3 separate regions of the Homo sapiens genome follow, and all the other regions are linked to region 3. Evidence: promoter capture Hi-C in 16 types of primary human blood cells and fetal thymus (Javierre and others, 2016). All regions are on one chromosome and are shown on one strand. Each heading gives the region's core, a stretch centred on a gene start or on the middle of the fragment in contact. The rest is flanking DNA. Distances are from core to core; before and after follow the strand shown. Region 1 has its middle 35 kb from the start of COQ2. Region 2 has its middle 54 kb from the start of COQ2. Region 3 holds the start of THAP9 (THAP domain containing 9).

Region 1 (2,700 bases), core at 73-2,572, 350 kb before region 3:
ATTGAGAGAGGCTTCCAGATTTCAATGGGGATGATGGAATCCCAGAGAGGCAGAGTCAAAGTGACTGCATTTAACCACCAAAGACAAGAAGCGTGGACATATTTACAATACAGGGCAGCAGGAACATAGTGCTAACCAGTTGCCTTAGCTCACAAAGATCTGTGGTGGTAATTGATCATAGTGTTCCTAGGAACAAAATGGATGGGTAGTCAAAAATGTAGCTTGCATCATCATAGTAAAAAGTCACAGCCTTTTACCCAGTTTTCAGACTTAATAAATTTACAGATGCAGAGGGTCTTGATTGAAGAATGTCTCTGGTGGCCCACCCTAACCAGAGCCATGCAGGCAGAAGAACTGTGGGACATGTAGTTCAGTCTAGCCAAGTTGACAATTATAAAGCCACCACTCCTAAGGAAGGCGCAGAGCAGCGATTTGACCGTAGGTGGTCAGGAGTCGCAGCCTCCACTCTTGACTGTTACTCTATTTTGCCTCCTTGGGGTACAAGGTGAAAAAACCCTCAACCCTGGTCTGGAGGGCCTGGAACTCCAGCTGACACCCACCACAGTGTGAGTGATGAGGAAAACACAAGGCAACTGGATCCAGTGGCAAATCTGCCATTTTAAGGGGGATGATTATCTTGTCTTTTCTTCTCTGAGGAAAGAGGCTTCTAGGAAGCTGTACCTGGTGGCTGTTTGTTCATGATGCTACTGTACTGATAAACTCAGACCTTCCTAGGTGGGCACGTAAGGCCTGCTTATCCCCCAGCTAGGGTGAGCAAACCTCCTGGTTTGCCAGGGCATGGGAGTATCTGCACTCAACTATGAAAATACTGGGCAAACCAGCACCCCCAGAATCTGGCAATCCAGCCACCACTCAGCTGCTGCATTGTTTGGGAGGGAGGACAACAAAACAGTACGATGATTTGCTCAGATTTTCTCCCTACTATTTTGAATCTATTAAACAGATTACAGAGACTTTTGGCTCTACTTCAGGATAGAATCAGGTGTGTTAATGTAAGTGTAATATTTTGTAAAGCATACATACTTTTGCTGGGTGCGGTGGCTCACGCCTGTAATCCCAGCACTTTGGGAGGCCGAGGCAGGCGGATCACCTGAGGTCGGGAGTTCGAGACCAGCCTGACCAACATGGAGAAACCCTGTCTCTACTAAAAATACAAAATTAGCCGGGCGTGGTGGTGCATGCCTATAATCTCAGCTATTTGAGAGGCGGAAGCACGAGAATCGCTTGAACCCGGGAGGCGGAGGTTGCGGTGAGCCGAGATCGTGCCATTGCACTCCAGCCTGGGTAACAAGAGTGAAACTCTGTCTCAAAAAAAAAAAAAAAAAAGCATACATACTTTCGAGTCTACATATTCTTTGGCCGTTAGTGTGGATTCCAGTAAGATGGTGGAACATTTACCATAAGCTCAATAGATGGAGAGTTCATTGAGGCAGCTTCGCGGCCCAGAACTACATAAGGTCTGTCATACATTTTCTTTGTAAATAAACCTGAGTTAAAAATAACTTTCTGGCTGGGTGTGGTGGCTCATGCCTATAGTCCCAGCACTTTGGGAAGCAGAGGCAGGAGGATCACTTGAGCCCAGGAATTCAAGACCAACCTGGACAACATGATGAGCCCCCATCTCTATAAAAAATACAAAAATTAGCCAGGTGTGGTGGTGCATGCCTGTAGTCCCAGCTACTTTCAGGGCTGAGGCGGGAGGATCATTTGAGCCTGGGAGGTGGAGGCTGCAGTGAGCCATGATCGTGCTGCTGCACTCCAGCCTGGGTGACAGTGAGACCCTGTCTCAAAATAATAATAATAATAATTTCCTCAGAACTTTTAGAATATTTATTTTTAAGAAGGAAGTGTGTTTAATTTTTTTTTCAGGATTTAGTGGAGGCCATTATTGGATACCAGGGGCAAAGGTCAGCCCAGGGTAAGGTGAGTCCAGGAGAAAGCCCAGCCTGTCCTACAACAGCCCTGCGGCATAGAACCGGTGGTGAGCCTGCCATGGTTTGCTTCTGGGCAGCAGGCTGGACCACCTGGGGAGCATGGAAGACTGTGTCTGTGTTCCCTCAACCATCCCCAAGTTTACAGCAGCCCCACTGTGAGTCAGGAGTCATTCCTGACTCACGGTAGGGACAGTTTGCATTTATGGAAAGCAAACTGGAAGGAGTGGCCTGAGCCCATATTGCCCATGGTAATGACTCCTTGCAATGCGAATAACCAAGGTGAGGCAGGTTGGGCAGGTTTTATCCTCCCCACAAAGGCGAGCCTTTGTGCCACAGCCAGCACCTGGCAGAGTGGGAGAGATAGCAGAACCAGAGCTGCTCATTTCCCTCCATCAGGCTAGAGTGGGTCAGTGGGATCATGGACCGAAAGAAGACATTGAATGGCTGGTCTGTCGCTCAGAAACAGGGTCCTGGAGCTGGAGTGGCCATGGGTTGGGTGGAGAGAGTAGGTGGTATGGCCCCCTTAACCAGACAACTAAAACCAACCTGCCCCTTAGCTGCCCACCCCCAGTGAGTTCTGCCTCAGCTTCCTGCCTAAGCCCTTGTAGAATGCCCTCTAGGGCAAGACTTCTGGAGGGGATGGTCCTGCCCTGAGCCATCCTCACATGAGGGTAGAGCAGTTCATGGGCGCAAAGGGCATCTTGCTGACTGCGCCCATCTGCTGCTTCTGCCGCACCTCTACCAG
Region 2 (2,751 bases), core at 11-2,510, 330 kb before region 3:
CATGAATGACATCTTAATTAATCAGTCTTCAAACAGGGGACACAGTGAGAATAAGGACTCCATGTTTCCTGATCTCAAAACACACTTGAGAGTTAAGAGCATGGGAATGACACTTCTGTGAATTACCACTTGGTGCCTGTTCATTTTTCTCTTCTGAGCAAAGTCCTCTCTTGTGAAATTCTAATACTTTGCATAGAATATTCAGAATTTCCAGACCTCATCGTTGAAGATTTCTTTTGCCTTCACAGTCATAAATATGTTGTAAGATTTGTGTTCCCAAGATCAAAGACAGGTCTCACAAGGGGTCCCCTGCTCTACTACCAGGACACCAACATTTGTTCTTGGTGCATCTTACATCAGCAATCTTTGAAATTCATTAGGTGAGGTCCTATATCCTTTGTTGTATCAGTCATCATCCCCAGCACAGGTTAAACCTCAGATTTCTCCACTCTAAGTGTCCTTGCCCTCAGGGAGGGTGACAGGATGTGGGGTTTCTTTCCAATGTTTTAGGACACACTCATAGCAAAACATGTCCACATCCTGTTGCAATCAGTGTGGTCAAATAGTGTGGAACAAATCAGCCCTTCCTGATATCTTCTGCATCTGAGGCAACCGTGTCCCTTATATGATGTCTGTAGTCAAAGGTTAGACTAGACTAGACAAAGGTTGGTTAGAAAACCAACTCTCAACCACAGACCTTGGTAGTTTCACAACTGTTTTTAAATAATCTCTTACTTCCTCCTTCCTCTCCCTTATCAATGGGGAAATGGTGGGAGTCTCTGGAGCAGAAGCCATAAGCTAATGAAATGTCATGGGACTGGACACACTAATGTTAAGGTCTATGGGCTTTACATCCACAGTTCCAAAAATCTGTCATCTCAGAGCATTAGCATCCAGCTATTTTTTTTTTAGTTTTTGTAGAGATGGGGTTTCACCATATTGGCCAGACTGGTCTTGAACTCCTGGCCTCAAGTGATCCACCTGTGTCGGCCTCCCAAAGTGCCCTGAACCAATACGCCTGGCCAAGTGTGTCTCTCTTTAAATAACTCTCCCCCTTTTTTTCTGTTCCACATCATCCTGTTTGGAAGATAGAGATTTCATTTTGCAGCACTTCTCCCAAACACTTGTCATCTTCCCTTTGGGAGTCTCTGTCCAGGGAATCTTATTATTTAGGAAAAATTTTTAGATGTGTCTTACCAAAGTCTCGGATATATATCTAATGATGTCCAACTCTCCCTATCATGAACTCTAGAATAACCTGACCACTTTTGCCCATGGGTTTCTGTCACTTCTACTTTTCAGACTGGTTCCTTCCGGTGGCCAGCATTTGGTACTTCCTCTACTTTCTGTGAAGACTCTCATTTAGTTAAAAAAAAGAAAAAAAAAATTACTGATGCCGTGGAGCATAGTATTTGTAGATACAAAGGACCTCAGAGGTCAGCCCCTCTCACTTGTTATATGAGGCATCTAAAGTTCTAAGGACTGAGATGTTTGCCCAAGGTCATGTAGTTAATAAATATCATCTATATCAGGCCACTTCGTATGATTGGGCAGGATGTTTATTACCAAAAAGCAACCACCTGACGGGTGAGTAGGGACCAAAATCCAGTCTGTGCTCCTCTTGCCTTGCCAAGCTGTGAGTCCTGCTTAGGACTCTATGCCACACCCCACCACCAGAGAAAAAGGCCTCTCTGTGATTTTTATAAAGGCACTATTTGGCTAATAGTGACGCTAATCTATATGTAAACTTTTCTTCTAATTATCTCAAACCTAAGTGTTAGAAAAAAGTTAATTAGGAAGAAACTTTGCATTTTTATTTTAAAGGAATTAGTATCCTATAACTTTTATGTTCCTAACAATTCTTACATCTTTTTCAAATGCTATTTGTTAATTCTTAAGCAATCTTGGCATTCACAGATTGGGTTGTTTGTTTGTTTGTGGAAACAAGGTCTCACTATGTTGCCTAGGCTGGTCTCAGACTCCTGGGCTCAAGCAGTTCTCCCGCCTCAGCCCCCCAAAGTGCTGGAACAACAGGGATGAGCCACCATGCCTGGCCAGATTTGATCATTTTTGCTTCACCTACTCAAATTATGGGGATGGGGTACAGATTCATTTTTGCTTCACCTACTCAAATTATGGGGATGGGATACAGGTTCAGACTAGGGTCTCAGGATCCAGGACTCTGCTTGAGAATAAGAAGGGCTGGCCCAGGGTTATAGGGTGGAACCAAAGAGAGACTTATGCCCCCACCCACATAAGGGCAGCTTTCTGTCTGATACAAAGGACCTAGTCCAAGGAGACAAGAACTTAATCACAAGGGAAAAGTCTGGAGTAGAGGACAGGACAGAGAGTAGTTCAGAGGCAGACGCTGGAAAGATTTCCTGAGACAAAGGTTCCTGGGGAGTGTTCTTTTGTAGGGGCCTCCTGTGTGCTTTGGATAAAACTGGAAAGTCCAAAAGGCCTAGTCAGCCTGCAGAGCTCCGAGGCAATGCAACAATGCCACTGGAGGTCAAGAGGAGGCGATGACATCAGAGACCAATGACCTGGTTTCAGTGGGACAAAACACTGCAACAAGAGCCCAGCAAGTGCCCACTGGGCCAAACAAAAGCCCACTGTGAACCAGCCACAACACCACCAATGCCACGTGAGTGCATAAACTTTCCCTCTCCCCAAGGCCATCTTGGCTAAGGGAAGAGGAGAGAAGAAAATGCCTAAAACGCTGAGCATTTCCCCAAAAGAGATTAGGTTAAC
Region 3 (2,700 bases), core at 1-2,500:
AAAGTCTTACGTTTTAGTTTTACAAAATTCTACAAGGCAGGTTTTTATTCCTCTTACAGAAGAAGAAACCAAGACCCAGAGCCAAGTACAGACATCAGTAAATACTCAATTAAAATTGGAATTCATGTCTCCCTAGTTTAAAACTACCTCTATCACAAGAAAAATCCCAAATCAATTATGGTCTCACATACACAATGAGTTGGTTCACACTGCTAACAATTTAGGTGGAGGAATCAGCCCTATTTAAAAAATAGAAAACAAAAAAAAAAAAAAATCAATGAATTTTATACATAGCCTACCATACATACTCTAAACTCCTTAACCTGGCATTTACATTTTTAAAATGGTTTCTCAGGTACTTTTCCACTCCTCTATATTTGCACTTTCTATCCTTTACATTTTCCCATGCCATTCCTAACTACCCTCTTCCTACCCCCCCTTTCCAACCATAAAGTTCTTTTTGATCTTTCCATAAATCTGCTCCTTTTGTCTGTGAGGATCTATTTTACCCACTTTTCTACTTGCTAGTGTACCCTGAATACTGAATGACCTATACCAGTCTGAACCATGGATATGAGTTCAGATAAGACTGATCTGAAATTCTTCCCCACTGTCGAGCCAAATGAAACTTCCCTGCCATGATCAAATCCAGCCAGAATCGGACCGGCCTTGCACAGCTCGGCTAACAGCACTTAAGAACTTGCAATGTCAGGCAGTACAGGAGAAAACTGATCTGTACTCGTGCTCAGGAAGACGCCACACACACACTTCAACCGTTGTCCTAAACTGCCTTCCCTTTCGGCCTCCTCACTTCAAATAATAAGACCATCCAATTAATGGAGGACTCCTTTCGCGTAACTCTCCTTAAAGCGGTAGGCGGTGCGAGAACCGGCTATTCAGAGGTAAACACTGGGCGGGAAGAGAGAGAATCTCAATTCTCACAGTGCCCCAATTCCGCTCCCACGCCCCGACGCTGCGCACGTCACGTCGCGTCACACACGCGGCGCGACCCACAGTGCGGCCCGGCCCCGCCCCACGCCACGCCACGGCCCGCCGGGCCCCGCAGGGAGTTCGAAGGCTTCGAGGCTGCTCCCATACGCACTGGTGGAAGGAGAGGCCGCGCTCCCGGCTGAGCACGGTGTCACGGGTGCTGCAGCCCACTGCGGAGCAACTTCGGGTCATCTTCTTGTTACGTGGGGCCCCACCTTCGGGGTTCCCGCGACAGCATGAATCACGACCACTTTAGCTCCGCCCGTTGACTCTGCGGCTACGACCTTTATTTGTCACGAAAGGCGGGCTTTAGAGGCGCGGGACTTCCACACTTCCTCTCCGAAGGCCCTGCGCCGGTGCCGTAGCCAATGACAGGCCACGTTGTGTCCCAGCAGCCAATCGGAAGGGCCTGAGCCTGAAGACGTGCATTTGACCGCTCCTCCCTCCGCGTTGGAGGCGGAATAGTGGGTTTTGCTGCAACCGGTTTATTTTCCTTCTGTTTTCACCCATTCTGGCACAATCTGGCGCCATCGTCCTTCTTGTGAGGCCAAGCCTGAAAATGCGAAGCAGAGAGGCAGGACCAAAATTGAGGCGAATCCAGGAACCTGCCAATGGGTCTCCGGGTGCGGTCTCTGAAACTGGAGGATATCGGGAGGAAAGGGTATGGAAGAGGGATAAAACACGGTGCCTTAGGTGTGTTGAAGACAGAGTCGGGCCAAAAATATATGATTTACTGAGATGCGTGTCGTGTTCTTGCGCTTTATCTTGTAGCTCTCCGATGCGGAGATAATGGGGAAGCTCTTGGCATGGTTGGCTGTAGGTATGTGATACCGGAGGAGCAGGAGTCAAATAGGATACGCCGACTTTTAATTCAAGGAACCCTTTTCTGAAACACTTTGCCACAATGAAGGAAATAAGGTAAGGTTCTTGGGGCTCCTCAGTAGTAATAGGGGCAGGGGACAAGGGGCAATTAAGTGGTTTTGGTTGGGAATGAGGCATTATGAATAGCTTTCAGGAGATAGAGCTTAGAACAATGTCTTAGTTATAAGCTCTTATGTTTGAGGAAGAGATTTCAATTTGCTTAGAGAAGGAAACGGGCCAGTGGGTTTTTGTCTCTGAGAAGGAGATCCTTAGCATACAGAAAACAGAGAAGGGTTTGCAACTTTTCCGTTTCTTTGTATAGCACACAAAAATAATTCCAAATATCCAGGCCTAACAAGATTGCTTCTTTTTCCCCTTTGTGTTTACTTTGTCCAGATTACAGCCGAAGATACATATTAAGGTATTACTTATTCACACCAGTTTTCCATTATAATATGCTTGTATCTTCTCTGAATGGAATTAATAGCTTTTGGTTATGGTTCCTTAAAAGTCACATGGCCTAAGGATAGATGGTCAAGGAACTTTGGAAAAATTGGTCCCTGGGGGATGTGCAGGGCAAATACTTTTTGGCTGTAAGGTGTGTGCAGAGAGTAAGAACTGGATTTAAATACTGTAAGTTGGTTGGGCTGTTAGAGCCTTTTCCTGCTCAACCAATTAAGACCCGAGTGAGGCTGAATAAAAATAACATTGTTTTTAGCTATCTTTAAGGAAAAAATTAGTTGCCTTATATTTTTGTAACAGTTTTACTCAGATATAATTCTCATACCACACAACTAATTGGTTTAAAGTGTACAATTCAGTGGGTTTTAGTATATGCACAGAATTGTG

Evidence for each region. Contacts are between HindIII fragments. The CHiCAGO score rates a contact against its expected background, and 5 or more counts as called.
Region 1: a fragment that was not itself captured here is called in contact with the fragment with the promoter of THAP9 in region 3 in 1 of 17 cell types (monocytes); the score reaches 5.7 in monocytes.
Region 2: a contact is called between a fragment that was not itself captured here and the fragment with the promoter of THAP9 in region 3, in 1 of 17 cell types (activated CD4 T cells). The highest score is 5.3, in activated CD4 T cells.

The regions. Positions count from the first base shown.
Region 1 is chr4:83,248,123-83,250,822 of GRCh38, reverse strand. It overlaps the pseudogene LOC391674. Among named protein-coding and RNA genes, the nearest start is that of COQ2, 35 kb to the left of the region's middle. The HindIII fragment of the contact is 9,826 bases long and covers 1-2,700 here.
Region 2 is chr4:83,229,682-83,232,432 of GRCh38, reverse strand. No RefSeq gene overlaps it. Among named protein-coding and RNA genes, the nearest start is that of COQ2, 54 kb to the left of the region's middle. The HindIII fragment of the contact is 3,285 bases long and covers 1-2,751 here.
Region 3 is chr4:82,899,285-82,901,984 of GRCh38, reverse strand. THAP9 (THAP domain containing 9) reads right to left here and starts at 1,250. Exons shown (of 5, transcript NM_024672.6): 1 at 1,103-1,250. The coding sequence starts at 1,182. It overlaps THAP9-AS1 (THAP9 antisense RNA 1), which reads left to right and starts at 1,069. Exons shown (of 4, transcript NR_034077.1): 1 at 1,069-1,651; 2 at 1,762-1,908. It also overlaps a transcript of SEC31A not described here. RefSeq lists a silencer at 891-1,240 and enhancers at 766-1,285, 1,551-1,670, 1,286-1,805. The HindIII fragment of the contact is 4,998 bases long and covers 1-2,700 here.